Regions from separate parts of the Homo sapiens genome. Here regions 2 and 3 are each linked to region 1. The links are contacts of gene promoters, found by promoter capture Hi-C in blood cells and fetal thymus (Javierre and others, 2016). All regions are on one chromosome and are shown on one strand. Each heading gives the region's core, a stretch centred on a gene start or on the middle of the fragment in contact. The rest is flanking DNA. Distances are from core to core; before and after follow the strand shown. Region 1 holds the start of CDK17 (cyclin dependent kinase 17). Region 2 overlaps SNRPF-DT (SNRPF divergent transcript). Region 3 overlaps CCDC38 (coiled-coil domain containing 38).

Region 1 (2,679 bases), core at 69-2,568:
TTACGGGTCCTGGTAATTTTAGAGGCATGGGAAAAGCCTGATTGACACGTACGATCGTTGGATATAACTGTAGATGCATTTAACTTTGCCAAACAAAATAAGAGAAAGATGTCAGCATGCAGCATTTTTAAGGGGGAAAGGATTCATCCCTAAATCCAAAAAGATAATTCCCCGAAGTTCTTAGCACATAATGTGATTTGAAACTTCAAAGCAGCTTCTACTTCCGGGTGTTAACATGGGAAAAAAAATTTATCTCACTTCACAGGACTTTTATGTGGGTTTTTTTTTCTTGTTTATGTTGTCTACATCCGGTCCCTACTCTCTTCTTTCAATCCTCTCATTATCTCCCTCTAGGGGTTTAAGTTTGTTTTAACTTTATGCTTTTATCCTTATTAGTGGAAAAAAGTGGGTCAGTATTACTTTAGTTTGTCTTCACTGCCACTCTGCTGTTCATTCCTGAACTAGCTTTTAGCCTCTGGGAAAGGAGAAAGTAAAAACAGTTGCAGAAACTGGGCCAACCTCTCGCGGCCCGCCTCCCCCAAGAAAACAAAACCTAACCCGTGCAACAGTAGTCCTTTCTGTTTTCATAGCACCTTGTATTTCTCCGCTCATAACGTTCAGATTTTTATGATAGTTATTGATCATCTTTCATCCCAGCTAGACTCTCCGTCCTTAGAGGACTCAGCATATTGCCGGGCACATGATAATATATACAAAACACTGTACTGTAGTTTAAATGAATAGATGCCGTGTGTGTGAGAGACTGCGGCACTAGTACCCACGTACCCACACACAACAAAGGAGAAAAGTTGCAGCCATCAACATCTTTCAGTGTGGGTCCTTTGACATGGACTCTCTAGAAAGTCAGTGGAGAACTGTGGCATGGACACCTTGTACAGTAATTACTTGTATAACTGAAGCACGAGTTTTGGTTTGGTAGCGGGAAGTTGAGGGGCAGGGGGATGTTGGAGGGGCTGAATTATTCACATAATTTCTCCCCCAGTCGCTGCGGACAGGCACTCATTCCGGTGGGGTCCCCTGGCCCCCTCCGCCGCTCCCCCGACGCCCGCATTTCGGAGCGGGCAGTTTCCCGGGGACACCCGCCCCGCCCTGCAGGCCCCGCCCCCGGCCGCCGGCCCCGCCCCCGCCTCCGCCGCCGCCGGCAGGGGTCGCGCTGCCCCCGGCGAGCCGCTCAGGCGGGGGTGGGGTAAGCTCCCGCGGCCGGTCGCTTTTCTCCGCCGCCGCTGGTTGGATCGTTTCAATAAAAGTGTTTTTTCTCTTGCACTCGCTCTCCTCCGGGGAACAGGCGGAGGCGTCAATCCGCAGCCGCCGAGTGTGAAAGCGACGCACACGCAAGGAGCGAACGCGGCCGCCCGCAGTCTCCTGAGCTCCCCGCGGGCCGCCGCAGAGCCGCGGAGAAGGAGCCAGCGCCCGGCCAGACAGTCTCAGCCCGCCGTCGGCGCCCGCCGCGCTCGCGCCCGGCTGCTCCGAGGGGATTAGTGGGCCGTCCGCGCGGCTCGTCGGCGCGGGAGCCATGTTGACCGAGGGACTTGGCAACGCGTGAGACACCCGCGGCCCCTCCCGAGGCTCCGGACCCGCGGCGAGAGCCGGAAGGCGGCTGTGGCGGCGGAGGCCTGCGCTCGGAAGCGCCTCACGTCTGCCGGCCGCTGAGACCCGGACTTGCATCCGGTCGCCGCGGGCGTCCGCGGAGCAGCTTCCCCCCGCGCCTCTCTTCGCCTCGCCTCGGGACCCGCGGTCCCCGCTCTTGCTGGTGAGTTGGCGGCTGGCGTCCGCGCCGCGCTTTCCCCTGGTGTCGGGTCGGCCGCGGGGCCGGGAGGCTGCGTGGGACAGAGGCGGGGGCGGGGGCTACTGGGGGCGCGGGTGGCTCAGGCCCGGTCGGGAAGTTGAGCGAGGAGGCGCGGCGCGGGGGGCTAGCGTGCGCCTGTCACCTCTCCGGTCCAGCGAGGACCTTGGGTCGCCCGGGGATTTCCGGGGCTCGGGTGGGGTGTGAGTGTCTGCGAGCTGCTTCCCAGGAGGCGCCGACAGATATAGACGCCGCCGCCTCCGGTGCTCGCTGCCGCTTTGGTCTGCGGGGGAGGCCGGTCTCCTCGCGAGGCGGAGGAGGGGAAAGAGGCAGAAAGTCCCCCGAGACACAAAGGTCCCCTCGGCGGGGGTGGAGCTGGAGGCGCAGGCGACGCTGCCCGGGAGGGGAAGGAAGGGGCGCGGGTCCGCGGGAGGTGGGCGAGGAGGCGGCGGTCGCGGCGCCTGCAGCTCCTTGGAGACGCTGGCGCTGTGCGCGGGTGGGGAGCGCGGAGGAGGAGGAGGAGCCCGCGCGTGGGAGCGGGTAGAGACAAAGATCAGGGCAGCCTCCTGCTGGCGGGTCACACCCCGGAGTGTTGGTCAAGAGCGGAGGTAGAGGGAAGGTGGGAAACCCAGCAAACCGATGGGGAGGGGAAAATGGGGGGAGGAGGGTGCCTAGTGCTGTCTCCGTCGCAGTTGCTTTTCTCAGCATTTTTGTGCCCGATGCTATGCCCGATGCTTTTGCTCCCCAACTCAGCTGGATAGCTCCAGATTCCCTCCCTCCTGTCACCCCCACACTGCCACATTGACTCTCCTGTGGTTTTTCCCTCGTTCTCCCCCTACTTTTCACCCACTCCTTTTCGGGTAAGCAGTATTTTG
Region 2 (2,679 bases), core at 96-2,595, 550 kb after region 1:
AGAAGGGGACCAATACATATTGAATGCCTTTCATGTTATGCTAGGATATTTTATTATGTAATTTGTCTAATTTAAATCCTCACAGTACTTCAAGGTAGATATTATTATCATCCCCATTTTAGAGATGAGGAGACAGCTTCAGAGAGATTATGTATTTTTGTCAAAAGCCATGTGGAAGGTAAAATGGCTCCAAAGCCTAAGATTTTTCCTTTATACGATGCTGCCGCTCCCAAAAATGTGGTTAAGTAGAGTACAAATAAACAAATATATAGAAATACAAATATTAATGCAGTCAATGAAGAGGGATAGCATTTAGGAAGTTACTTTTGAAATTGATGAGCTCTTCTTTTTATTTTGTTTATTCTCATAATTCCAACATCTTATTTTTTTCTGATTATGGCCAGAATCAGCTACAGGTATGATCGGAATAGGTTTAAAGGAGGAAAAATCCAAGATTTGAATGCTGTCAGGTGGAAGCTTTTTATATATTTTTTGTCAAACCTGAGAGATATGGTATTCTGTCTACCGAAGAAGTTAAGATTAAAAAATATATAAGCTTCTTTGGATCATACAAACACTGAACCTAGATTAGAATTCAAATCTTTTTGGTGGTTCAAAGCCCATTGTACCATTATAGAGAGACAATCATACCTCAAAGGTGTAGGAGCATAAGAACCTCCTCTCTCACCTCTTGAGGTTTGATATTTGAGTCTGAGAAATAAATAGACAATAGACCAATTGGTCTATCTATCCAAAACAAGGAGAAAAAGCACAGCGTAATTGATTTATGCGCATGGGAGCATCACAGGAAGGCGAATGCCCAATTCTAGTAGTGCTAGACCCAATAAGGTCTAGAAGTTTATATACCCTTATGCATAGGGGAGAGGGGAATGCAGGATGTAGGCAATTTTAGAAGAGTAATAAGTGATTTTTACAAGAGATGAATGGGTCCATGGAACAGACAATAGTCTGGGACAAAGTTCATCTGGGCTGTGGGTATGGTGTTTGATTTTCAGTCTTTTCCTCTGTGATATGAGTTTAATTTTCCTTGGTTAATGAAATTTCAGTAAGAAGATTGAAGACAATTGTTTTCCTCTTCAGTGGATTGGATCTTTAGGTAGATAAGGAAACTTCAGAGAAAAGTCTCTTCCTGTGCTTCAGGAGAGGAGGAGGGGCAAGAGATGGGGGGTGGGAGAAGGTCAGAGAGAAGGTCAGACCTTGGTTCTGAGGCTGCTGCTTTAGTGCAAAGTAGCAGTATGCTTCGGGGTATCATTTTCTGAGCCCCAACAAAGGAAACCTGGTATTGTGGGTAGGAGCCAATACTGTCTGAGTTCAAATCCTGACTCTGCCATGTGCAGCTTATCTCTGCTTCAATCTCCTCATCAATAAAGAGGATGATCATGATAGTACCTATCTTAAAAAAATTTTTTTTTAGTGAGGTGGGCTGTAACTATGTTGCCCAGGCTGGTCTCAAACTCCTGGGCTCAAGCAATCCTCCTGTCTCAGTCTCCCAAGTGGCTGGGATTATGGGTGTATACCACCATGCCCAGTTCAATACCCATCTTATAAGGCTGCTATTAGGATACAATATTTGTGGTGTTTATCCACCTCCTGATACTGAATAGTTTCTGTAGCGAGGTACGTAGGCACGTGAGTAGGTCAATGTGACCTACAATAACTAATGCTAATAACTAATATTGGACTACTTGTTTGCTGTTTGCTAAACTGCTGCTTGCTCAAAAAGTTCTGGGCTGTTGGCTTTGATTCTTCAGCTGTGCTGGAATCCACTGTGCACATCTATCTGTCTGGGTCTATCACTTCACCTCTTGGGACCTGGGGGGCAAGGGAGGCTGACATGGCTAAGACAATGCTTCTGTTTGCTGTGTGTAGTAAACTGTCTTGTTCTGATCCACATAGTCTCATTGTCTCCTTTCAGCACCTGTGGAGAGACAGCAGGTTTACTCCTTGCTACCTGAAGTTGGGGTTCTCTCCTGACTCTCACAGGGTTAACATTAAATGAAGAACATTAAATGAGATAATATATGCAACGCAGTACAATATCTGGTCAGTTCGATAAATATTTGTTCTCCTACATTTATATTCAATCAAAATCTAATTATCCCCAAAAGCTTGGTTTAAGTAATGTAAAACCAATGTAAAAGTAGCACCTTATATATTTATGGGGAGACCAATCCCTTTATGGACCAGAAAATTAGTTTGCCTAATAACTCAAGATATAAGAGATTAGTCTAGACCCAAAACCACATTTATTAGCCATTAAGTGCAGAGGGAGCTGGAGGGAGCTAGCAATCAAGGACCTGGGAAACAGATGAGACAGAAAATGAGTGGATGCATACAATTTGTTCATATATATTGAGTTATATTAAAAAAGCAGTATAGGCCAGGCAGTGTGGTGCATGCCTGTAATCCCAGCACTTTGGGAGGCCGAGGTGGGTGGATCACTTGAGGCCAGGATTTCAAGACCAGCCTGGCCAACATGGTGAAACCCCATCTCTACTAAACCTCGTCTCTACTAAAAGTACAAAAATTAACCAAGCATGGTAGTGCATGCCTGTAAGCCCAGCTACTCAGGAGGCTGAGACACAAGGATCACTTGAACGCAGGAGGCAGAGGCTGCAGTCAGCCGAGATGGCACCACTGCACTCCAGCCTGGGCGAC
Region 3 (2,679 bases), core at 119-2,618, 530 kb after region 1:
TAGACTAGAATACTGCAATGGCTTCCCAACGAAAACAGTGAAAATGATACTTCTAAAAAGGCTTTGGTAGGCCAGCCTGGGTACCTGTTTGCTTGCAACTTTTTTTTCTGAGAATGCATTTAGTCATTTATTCAGCAAACATTTATTCAGTGCGTAGTTATGTGCAAAGCACTGTTTTAGTTGTAAGTTTAAGCATAAGATGTAGCTCCTGCTCTCCTGGACTATAAGGATAAGGCAGAGAACTATTACATAGGATGATTATAGTTTCGCAATTATAACAGAGTAATACATGCAAAAAAGGAGGGGGGCTGGGTTACATATTGTGCCAAAAGGAAATGCATCCGAGTGGCAAAAAAACGATTTAAAATGTTTGTTGCCTGTATTTGAATTCTTAGGGAGTCAGATATACAAAAACATTCAAGCAAAAAATATTCCACCCATTATAATTACTTTTCATATCTAGAGTTCAGTATATTTTAAGAAAATAATCCAAGGTGTTCTATAGTAATGCTCTGACTATAAATTATAATATAGGTTAAATATCACTGCTGCATTTTCTCAATGATTTATTAAAACTTCTCATTTTAAAAAGTAAACATTAGGCCAGGCACAGTGGCTGATGCCTGTGGCCGAGGCAGCTCGATCACCTGAGGTCCGGAATTCAAGACCAGCCTGGCCAACACGGTGAAGCCCCAGCTCCACTAAAAATACAAAAATTAGCTGCGCGTGGTGGCGCATGCCTGTAGTCCCAGCTACTTGGGTGGCTGAGGCACAAGAATCGCTTGAACCTGGGAGGCGGAGGTTGCAGTGAGATGAGATTGCACCACTGCACTCCAGCCTGGGTGACAGAGTGAGACTCCGTCTCAAAAAAAATAATAAAAATAAAAATGTAAACATTTAATAGCATATACATGGGATTTTACTGTAATATAGTAAAATGGTATATTTATTGAATGTGGAATGTGATGTTAATGTTTTCTGCTCTTCTCAATCTCAGGAAATACTGATAGACTCACTTAGTAAAAAGATTACTCAAGTATACAAAGTCTGCATTGGAGATGCTGAGGATGACGGCCTCAACCCAATTCAAAAGCTGGTAAAAGTAGAATCTCGCCTGGTAGAACTGTGTGACCTCATCGAATCCATTCCCAAAGAAAATGTGGAGGCAATTGAGAGGATGAAACAGAAAGAATGGCGGCAAAAGTACAGTCAATAAGGATAAGAATGACTTAATGAGTAGCTGGTTTTGCTCAGATTCCACAAACACATTAGCAAGTCTCTTGTGTAATGTCATATTATAGGGACACAGTGAGGAGGAATGAAATCCAGCCCTGCTCTCCTCATATAGCTATTATTTAGCATGGGAGATCATTCATCAAATACTCTTAGGAAATAAATGTGTCATTACCAATGGTAATGAGCACCACGAAGGAAGGAACTGGGTGAACAGAGTTCACCAGGGGCAACTGACCTAGTTTGGGATGGACAAACTAGCCTGGAAAAGCAAATCTTTGTAATTATATGAAATTTATGAATAAGTAATTACATGAAAATTTTTGAATAGCTATCATGGGGAAGGAGAATTGCACTGGTGGTGAAGGACCCAAGATATAGAATTAGGAGCCTGTCATGGGAAAACTTCAAGCAGACTCAATCTACCTGTGGTTCTCCCATGAAGGGCTCCAAATTCCTAATGAAGGAATTGTTTGAAAGTCTGAGCAACACAATGAGGGTTTTCCGCAGTGTATAACTGCCAACATGTACACAACATTCACTCATTTATTCCTCAAGACAACCTCATGAGGATTATCATCCCTGGAGCCCCAACCCATCCCCCACATGCTTACATAGCTTGGTGCCCTTCAAAGGAGATCTGTGCATTGAGGGCGGTATGGCCTGACCGGGGCCTTTCAGAATGCGTTCACTTACAAATTTCCATACCAAGTTAAATAAGAACTTTTAAGTACAAACAGTTGTCCCTTGGTATCTGTAGGGGATTGGTTCCAGGACCTCCCAAGGATACCAAAATCTGCAGATGCTCATGTCTCATATAAGACGGCATATTTGCATATAACCTACGTACATCCTCCTGTATACTTTAAATCATTTCTCAACTACTTATACCTAATATAGTGTAAATGCTAGAGTTGTCATACTGTATTTCTTAAAATTTGTATTATTTTTATTGTTGGGGCTTTTCTCCAAATATTTTCAATCTGCAGTTGGTTGAATGCCCAGATGTGGAACTGTGAATATGGAGGGCCTACTGTCCTAGTTTGAGGCAATGATTATTGTAAATATGACCCCTAGCTTACTGTGGCATGTAGGGAATGTTTACAAGTGGGATAATGTTCACGTAATGGCAAAAAACATGTTGAGAGGCAGACTAGTACTCAGGCTACCAGCCTGGGGATTAGACCATGCTGAGTGAGTTCAGTTCAACTATTTATGACTTTGTGACCTTAGGCAACATAAGCACTCTAGTCGGTTTCTTTATCCGTAAAACGGGAGTAATACTGATAAATACAGGTTGTTGTGAGGATTAAATTAGATGATCCAAGTAAATTATGAGAGCATGCTTGGCGCATAGTAAGTACTCAAATATTAGCCAGTAGTGTTAGATATTTTGTTATTGCCTACTACTTTATGGATGTAGGGTGGATATGCTTACCCACAGTA

The links. Contacts are between HindIII fragments. The CHiCAGO score rates a contact against its expected background, and 5 or more counts as called.
Region 2: a fragment that was not itself captured here is called in contact with the fragment with the promoter of CDK17 in region 1 in 3 of 17 cell types (fetal thymus, monocytes and naive CD4 T cells); the score reaches 6.7 in fetal thymus.
Region 3: a contact is called between a fragment that was not itself captured here and the fragment with the promoter of CDK17 in region 1, in 1 of 17 cell types (neutrophils). The highest score is 6.3, in neutrophils.

The regions. Positions count from the first base shown.
Region 1 is chr12:96,399,078-96,401,756 of GRCh38, reverse strand. CDK17 (cyclin dependent kinase 17) reads left to right here and starts at 1,318. Exons shown (of 17, transcript NM_002595.5): 1 at 1,318-1,771. RefSeq lists an enhancer at 335-554 and silencers at 975-1,304, 1,395-1,574, 1,755-1,914. The HindIII fragment of the contact is 3,343 bases long and covers 1-2,679 here.
Region 2 is chr12:95,852,908-95,855,586 of GRCh38, reverse strand. All of the region lies in intron 1 of SNRPF-DT (SNRPF divergent transcript), which reads left to right. Among named protein-coding and RNA genes, the nearest start is that of SNRPF-DT, 4.6 kb to the left of the region's middle. The HindIII fragment of the contact is 1,573 bases long and covers 559-2,131 here.
Region 3 is chr12:95,870,779-95,873,457 of GRCh38, reverse strand. It overlaps CCDC38 (coiled-coil domain containing 38), which reads left to right. Exons shown (of 16, transcript NM_182496.3): 14 at 998-1,203. Among named protein-coding and RNA genes, the nearest start is that of SNRPF, 13 kb to the right of the region's middle. The HindIII fragment of the contact is 2,748 bases long and covers 1-2,679 here.